Regions from separate parts of the Homo sapiens genome. Here region 1 is linked to region 2. The links are contacts of gene promoters, found by promoter capture Hi-C in human tissues and cell types (Jung and others, 2019). All regions are on one chromosome and are shown on one strand. The core of a region is centred on a gene start or on the middle of the fragment in contact, and the rest is flanking DNA. Distances in the headings are between cores, read along the strand shown. Region 1 holds the start of LOC105377376 (a long non-coding RNA gene). Region 2 holds the start of ARSJ (arylsulfatase family member J).

What was found. Contacts are between HindIII fragments. The study calls those that stand out against the background at their distance.
Region 1: a contact is called between a fragment that was not itself captured here and the fragment with the promoter of ARSJ in region 2, in 1 of the 25 tissues and cell types used here (H1 embryonic stem cells).

Annotation. Positions count from the first base shown.
Region 1 is chr4:114,035,033-114,038,906 of GRCh38, forward strand. LOC105377376 (a long non-coding RNA gene) reads right to left here and starts at 1,519. Exons shown (of 3, transcript XR_939088.2): 1 at 1,444-1,519. The HindIII fragment of the contact is 3,289 bases long and covers 1-3,196 here.
Region 2 is chr4:113,976,860-113,980,998 of GRCh38, forward strand. ARSJ (arylsulfatase family member J) reads right to left here and starts at 2,788. Exons shown (of 2, transcript NM_024590.4): 1 at 1,578-2,788. The coding sequence starts at 1,975. LOC107986305 (a long non-coding RNA gene) reads left to right here and starts at 2,954. Exons shown (of 2, transcript XR_001741794.2): 1 at 2,954-3,127; 2 at 3,511-4,139. It overlaps LOC124900762 (a long non-coding RNA gene), which reads right to left. Exons shown (of 3, transcript XR_007058237.1): 3 at 4,036-4,105. The HindIII fragment of the contact is 13,267 bases long and covers 1-4,139 here.

The sequences.
Region 1 (3,874 bases), core at 302-2,801, 57 kb after region 2:
ATGTCTACAGATCCCAAAGTATTGTTTCTTCAAACAGTATCTTGGTGTGACACTGGAAAGAATTGCAAGGGAGATGGCACGGGTGGATCACATCAATCTTGACTTGAGTCTCTACTTACCTGATAGTTGGCTCCACTGAGAAATACAAAAAGAGTGGTACTTGTTTTAGTATAAAAATAGTATGAAGTGCAATTACTAAATGGGCTAATTTTTTCTCATTATCAAGGTTTTTTACTATTTAAGAATCACAGGAAGAAGGAAAAATGTGCATTAACTTTTATAAAATCAGTGGTAGTAACTTATCAAAAAGCTACTTCATTAGTACTTCAGTAAGTAGAGTACTTCATTTAGCATTACTCCATTAGATAATATATAAAAAACAAGGCAAGCTTAGTAAACCATCTGGGTTGAAAGTTGTAAGAAAAAGAGACATGGTTGGAAGCTTGAATAAATGAAAATATTTTTACTACAAGCATCTGATTTCTGCATGCATGGTGGCAGGCAAGTAATTTCTTGGCTGATGCCTAAATCATATTTTTGAATTGAAAATGAAATATCTGGCATTTAAAGGAAGTCTTAAAAATGCAACACATAGATAAGTCTACTTAAAATACAGAACTGAGAACATTGGTTGAGTTATGAAAAATCTATGCTTGGAGACTACCATGATCCATGTCTCTGCCTGGAACCCTCTACTCACCCGTAATGTATTTCTCTAGGAGACTTCTTTTTAAGTGATTGTTTAATGAGTGGTAATCATATGATGAATGCTCCAGGTATTATACTAGGTGATTTACACAGATTATTACATTTAAATCTCAAAACAACTCTGTGAGGAAAGGTTAAGTAATCCAGTAAAAAGTCCCCCAGCTAGTAAGTGGCTAGCTGAAGATTTGAGGAGTCACGATTTGAATGCAGGCCTTCTTATCTCAGGTCTGAGTTGATATAATAATAATGCTTTCCATGGTGGGATGGAGAGTTAGGAACTTTACCCACCTTTAGACAAATAGGATGCCGTGTCTTAAAGAAGGGATTTCTATTCTGGAGAGAAGACAATCTGGGAGCTCTTAATTGGACTACAAATTCCTTAAAGGTAGAAATATACTCACTATTATATTCCCAGCATCAAATAGGCATACAATAAATACTTGTTGAATTTATGAGAGTCTGGCAAATTTGCCACCCTTTTAAAAAGAATAGTCTATAACAGAAGTTTAATTCTAAGGAATTTCCAATAGGGGCAAAAAAGTGGAGTGGAGGGGAGTTGTCACATAATTATAAGGAAACATAACTATCCCATATTTGAGTGTGCCTACATGTGAAAGACTGATCAATCATAAGCAGATGGGTTAAATCTTAAAAAGAATATAGGATACGACCCAGAACATTAAAGCATTACTATAATAGCCATAAACATTGGAAGAGATTCTCTAATCAGCCTACCTTAATATGGTGGTTTGGAAGAAATATCTCAGGGAACAAAGAGAAAGACCATCAGAAAAGAGTGTGGTTGGTGACGGAAGCACAGTGCCCTCACCAGAGGTGCTATGAAAATGATTAACGCTGTGTAAAGTACATCATTCAAAAACTAGGTGCCACTGAAGAACAGTTGCTATGGCAACCGAAGTAATATAGAAGGGAGAGGCGAGGCCAAGGAAGAAGGAATGACATAAATTGAAAACCTAGGAAGTGCCAGGTTTCACAATGAGTTTCACAGTTAATATCTCAATTTATCTTTACAGCTCTATTTTACCTTCCTGTGATTGTGCTACCACTAAATATCCACAGGCTTCTTTTCTGTTCTGTAGAATGGGATCCTATTTCATCAGATTCTCTATTTTCTTGCTGAAAACAAGCAGGCACAGGAAAGAGATGTCACTTTGAAACAGAAGAGGTTAATAAAGCGACTACAAAAGGGTAGAGGAACATCATAAAATACTTGTGCAGTCCTATGGGCTTGGCCACAGCCGGGAGCCACTGTCATTCCTAGGCCTAAAGAGGCAAGGAAACGAACAGTTACAAGAAGGTGGAGAGAGGCTCTGTGGGGAAAGATGCCTGAGAAGAACAGGATCTTTCAGTAGAGATAGCCAAAACAGGCGGAAGGTAGCTGAGGGAATAGGAACCTGCACCTCCCTCTCCTCCAGCCTGCCAGACCTCCTCCCTGTGCCGTTCTTTATATAGCAGAACTTCTACCTCCACAGGCTTTTCTGGGTTAAAATGTCCAAGTGTCTGCAGGGTTTTTATTACAGCCTGGACTTGCTGCAAAGCCTTTTCTTGATGTGGGACCCATTCCACACTGACAATTTAAACCTGCTATATTTTGCTCCAAAATTCAAAAATGCCCTCCAAGCAATCTGCCTTTCTTTGTGGTAGGTGAGCAGATATCTCACTTTCAAAGCAATATTCTGATATTTCCCAAATCACTGGATTCTTAAGAATCTATACCAATGTGGCAAACCTCTGAAACTTCACAGGGTTTAGTTGCTATCCTCTTATGTGCATGGGTCTTACTAGTCCTGATCCCCAGACTCATTAGTATAACAGCATCAGCATAATAAACAAGCTAGTGTGATATTCTGTGGTATATAAAGACTATAAAGGACTAAATTATGACACTGGGCAGGAGAGTTGACTTTGTCCTGAAGCAATGTGGTAAAGATATACTTTTGTATCTATGAAACTGCTTCTAATTTTCCTTGACTGATTTTTAATCAGCTAAGTCAACAGCTGTATTCTAGCTGCTGAAGACTGTAGTGATTTTTCCTCATCTGGAGCTGCAGGTTAAAACATAACTCAGTCATTATCCAAGACCTATCAAACTTATGCACCAGCCAAACAAGCTATTTAGATGAACACGTGGTATGAATCAACTTCCCCTATATTTAAAAGATTGTTTGTTGTGGAACTAATTTTTTCAATTCACCCAGGCATGTGGTGTCATTTTTGGGTTGCTATATTTTTCAGGGGGTAAAGGAGAAGGGGTAAGAAGAGGAGAAGCTTTACTAAAACCAAGGAGAATGGCTTTATGGAGAGGGCCACCTGGCAGAAGTTATGACCTTCAGGAAAGATGAAACCAACTCCCAGCAACCCAGCAGGGAGGGTCCTAAGGGAATCCATAAATACCCTAAACTCATCCTTTTCTATCATCACAACATCTGCTTGTGCTTCTCATTGGCCAAACCAACCAGAAGCCAGCGGGTGTGGCAGCTATTGGTGCATACCATACAGATCAGTCTCCCAGATGGAGCACAAGCAAAATGAAGAAGGATGGAGGGTATGGTGGGTAAGGTGGGAGGTTTTTTAATAAAAATAGCCAAAATATAAGCCTTTCACAATTTTAGTACATTACTACTAGTCTTTAGAGGGAAGTGATCAAAAGTGGTAAAATTATGAAGCTTATGGCATTTTACAAATTTATTTCAAACATGAGTCTTGGGCTACATTTACTGACTCCATTTTTACATGTAACTGGAAACTAAGTTGAACTTCTAGCCCCAATTTTTAATTCCTGTATTTGGGATCAACTCTTCCATCCCTCTAACTCTTCGTTTAGAGCTGGTCATTTGAACCTCTTCATACAGAATGGGTACTTTTTACATCATGTGGGCCTGAACGTGCAAAAAGGAAAAGAATGAGTTATAAAAAGGCTCTGATCTCCAAGGTCCTGTTGTCTCAACAAACTCTATTTCATTGAGCCTCTTTCCCATTACAAAACTGTTCATATCTGTAATTTTTCTCTCAAGTATTCACTAAGAATTGTTTCTGTTCTTTCTTTTGGTGGGATGAGAATATTTGGAAATGCTGATTGGAAGTACCATATGCCTATCTCTGCCCTTTCTTTAAAGGATCATGTTTGCTTAGTATTTTCTGTGTC
Region 2 (4,139 bases), core at 1,538-4,037:
CTTTCATTTTATTAAGTAAACATAATGGTTAAAAGATAAAACCTACATATTGTTTCAGTGCAAGATAATGTTTAAGAACAAATTTTCTTGTTTGGTGAAAAGCCTTGAACATATGCTTTATTGTGAAAAATAAATTCATATAGTTCAGTTACTTATTTTCAACCACAGTTGGCTATCTGTGTAAATCTAAATTCTATAAGTTAGTTGAAGAGGTCCAGTGAGGCTTTGTGAGACATTTATTTCATGAGCCATATATAAGGGTGTTTGGAATCAGACATGAAGAACTTGACCTCTAGGCCACCAGATGGACTAGTTATTTTCCAGCCAATAATCTACTCCTTTATAAATATCAAATACCCTTGATTTTCTGATGCCACAGTTAACCTTTAAAATGACCCTGAAGTACAGTGAGACTTTTCTCATTCTCAGGAGAGGGAAGGACAATAATTTTTTTCTTTTCTGGCAATGATGCTAAGTTCTGACAGTTTGCTAAGCAGTGGAAATCATGCTGTAAGCAAAAGTCTCTGCGAGACAGAGATTCTTACAAAATAGTCTTTATTTTTCCAATGGATACTGGCTACTTTTATAGGATCCAATTCCAAGAACAACTTCACAGAAGCAAGGGTTCCCTGTCCTGCAACTGAAATCACAAGACATAGATTGAAATGGCTAAGGATTTTCTTCTACCTCTGTCCAGCTTAACCCCTGCCCTTCCTAGTTTATCTTCGTTCCACAGGCTGAATTTGTACATCCAAATCAATTACAGTAGCCTGTGTTCTGATAGGATAGAGTAAAAATATGAAAATGTTTGAACAATTTAAGTAGAAGATTTAGCTACTTAGCAAAGCAGCAACAATATGAAAAGCACTTTACTTAAGCATCCAAATAGTCTGATTTCTGTTGGTTAGTCAGAAAATTCCAGACCTGTGAAGAGCAACAGAAAACTGCAGATGAAGTTTGACTCCTCTTGAGCACTTACCATTGTATTTCCTTGCATTTTGAGAACTGCTTTGCTAATTAAATATGGCCTTCATTAGGGGGTCTCATAAGAGAAAATGACCCATCAAAGACCGAAGCAGAGTCATACATAAACTGGTCATATTTTACATTACTCTATATCTGTTTCGTTGGTTCATTTTCTCTGATAATTCTAGATTTAAGAATGCACCAAGAGTAAAAAAAATTTTTGATCTTTCTTATCAGTGATGGTGAGTGTGAATTCTAGTATGACATCTGAAACAAAATCTGAGCATGCTCAAAAGTAGAATAGATTTGAAACAGGAGACCATTTCTGGAAATCTCTGGTTTGTGGGTATTTATACGTTCTCATCTCATTTAGAAACTTATAATTGGCTCTGTAAAAAGGAAAACTAGACTACACTAGTGACTAGAAAATTAAGATCATTAACATTGTATCCATTTTAACACGGTACCCCAATACCATACATCATTCATTCATTCTTCATTCATTCAGTTGTTCCCCATACTTTCTGTTACTCCCTTAAATTTGGAGCTGGATCTTCATTAAATGCTTAAGATTTCTCCAAGGAATAAATATAAGAAGTAGGAACACTTACTTTCCAGTAATAAACTGACTCCTGGATGGTGTGCAAATAGGCTGGACATAGTAGTTCTCCAGTTTAACTCCTTCGGCAGCGAGCTTGTCAAGAGTAGGTGTTTTAATCTCAGATCCGTGGTAACCCACATCTCTAAATCCCTGATCATCCGCTAGGATGAAAATGAGATGGGGCTGGGAGGTGGAAGTTGTGCTGGGCTCTAGTTTCTCTCCAGCTTGAGCTAGTAAGGCCCCTTCTTCCTCCTCTTCTAAGGCCTGGCCCCAGGACAGGTAACCATAAGTGAGGAGGCAGAGGATCCAGAATCCTGCCAGCGCCCCCATTGCTAGCATCTTTCCAGGACAGACACAGGCCTGTGGAGAAGGCGGAGGCGGATGCCCCGCACAGCCCCTGGGAGCCATTCACTCAGGTCCCAGGTGAGACTCCACGCGGAGAACCACGCGCCCCGCGCCGCTGCGGGCGCACACATGCACCCAACAGACGGTGAAGACTCTCCACCTGGCAAGAAATCCTCCTCTCCTCTCAGCTGTCACCATGTCCGACAACTTTAATCTTCCAGAAGTGATGGCTTAATGGATGGGACTCCGGAAGAACAAGGAGGGCTCGCTCTTCTCCAGCACATTTCACTTTCTCCTCCTCCTCCCCCCTCCCTAGAGCAGCTTCCACCAAGGAAAAAAAAAAGAAAAAAGTTAATATCTCCACCCAAAAGTTCTCTGGAGAAAAAAACCAAGCAAGGAATTGAGAATCACAGTGGACAGGAACTTTTCGTGGCCAGAGCGCCCTCGACGTTGGGGAGCGAGGCTGACTCTCCTGGGAGTGCTGGTACGGAGGGCGGCGGGATCGGCCGTCTGTCCTGCGGTCCCCACACCTGGAAAGAACTGCGAAGTGGACGCGTCGCGTCTGGCTCTGATCAGACAGATAAACTGCCGTAGTGGACCGGCCTCCTGATCACCTTCTCCACTTTCCCAGGGCTATTTTCCCCAGTCCTTTCCTAGGCGTTTGCCAATCTCCCCGACACTCACCAGGCGGCGAAGTGAGGAAGAAGCCGTTTCCTGATCTCCCTCCACCTCCGCAGAAACTCCGGGCAGCAATTCCTTTTCCCCGCTGCTAGGGAGCCTGAAGGCCAAAGCCGGGTCCCTAGCCCCGCGGCCGGTCCGCGCGGAGCCCGCTTGGTCTTTGCGTAGTTGGCGCACCCGGCGCAGGCGCTGCAAACTGCGTGCGTTTTCTCAGCTAACTTATTTAGCTTTGGCACTCCGAGTTCTTTTGCCTCCTCCCTCTTTTCTCTCCAGTGAATCACAGAACGGTACTTTCTTCCTGAGCTCCCCCGGGAAGAGGGGGTGGGGGAAAAGGACTGTTTAGAGGCTCGATCTTTCCTTTTTCTTTTCCGGGAGGTGGATGGCCAAGGCAGAGGAGGCTTTGCCAGAGAGAGAGCTGCGTGCTGCTCCAGCCCAGCGGGATTCCGGGGGATCCGCCTGGGCTACCGCGTCCCAAGAGTGTCGCCTCCTGCCCATCACCCCGCTAGAGGGAAAGGACGGCGGCGCGAATGGGGAAGGGTAAAGCGGGCACTTCTTTTCGTGGGGCTGTTGGTGAAGAGCCCCGTCTCCCATCCCTAAAGTTGCGCTTGCAAACTTTTTCTAGCTTCTGGAGGGAGTGAGAGAGAAGGAGCAGGAATAAAAACAAAATGCGTATGACACTCTTTCCTCTTTCCAACTTCCTTTGCAGGTTTTCCTTTACTAGTCCCCCCACCCCCATCATTTTCCTATTCCTTTTGTCCCTACCTTTTTTTTTTTTTTTTTCAGTAACGATGACAAATTTTTAAGTTTTATTTCCTCTCCCAATAGCTGGCTTTTACAGCCTGATTCTTCGTTACCCTTTCCCTATGTGAAAATACTGGAATTGCCCGCTCCCTCTTACCTCTCCCCTAACTTACCCACAGGGTGTCTCCAGCCAAAAGCCTGGAGAGGAAGAGTTATGCATTTCTCCTTCAAGAACCCCGAAGCCAGTCTGCATTCCTGCATTAAAGAAGCCAGTGTTTCCCATCCAGTAATTCAGGGAGCTTCATCATTTTTTTTCCTTCTTTCTTTTTTACCATGTGGAGGAAAACCATTGTAAAAACTTATCTTGGTTGTGAAAATACTCTTGATTTTACTAGAGTCATAGAGTTTTAAAGTCCTGCTCAAAGGCAGCAGAGGGATGTATAGTATAGTCTCTATAGAAGAGGCAATGAATGCCAAGAGCCACTGAGATATTTTTTTCTACCACCAAATTTATTCAACAGTTACTTACTGAATACCTACTGTGGGCTGGCACATAACATGTCAGATTCTCTCAATTGACTGAAACATAAATCTAGGTTTCATTTAGCCATTTATTTCTAATTCTCTCCTGTTGCTAAAGTTCCTGCTGAGTTCCCAGGCAAAACTTTGTGAAATGGGAACTTTGAAAGGCACGATGGTGCTCCATGAAGTTAACCTTGCTAGCTGCTGTAGGCCTTCTGGTCTCTGTTCTTCCTTGCAGCCCTTCTGGCTAAGCTGGGGAGAGATAGTCAGTTTTAGAAGCCATGTT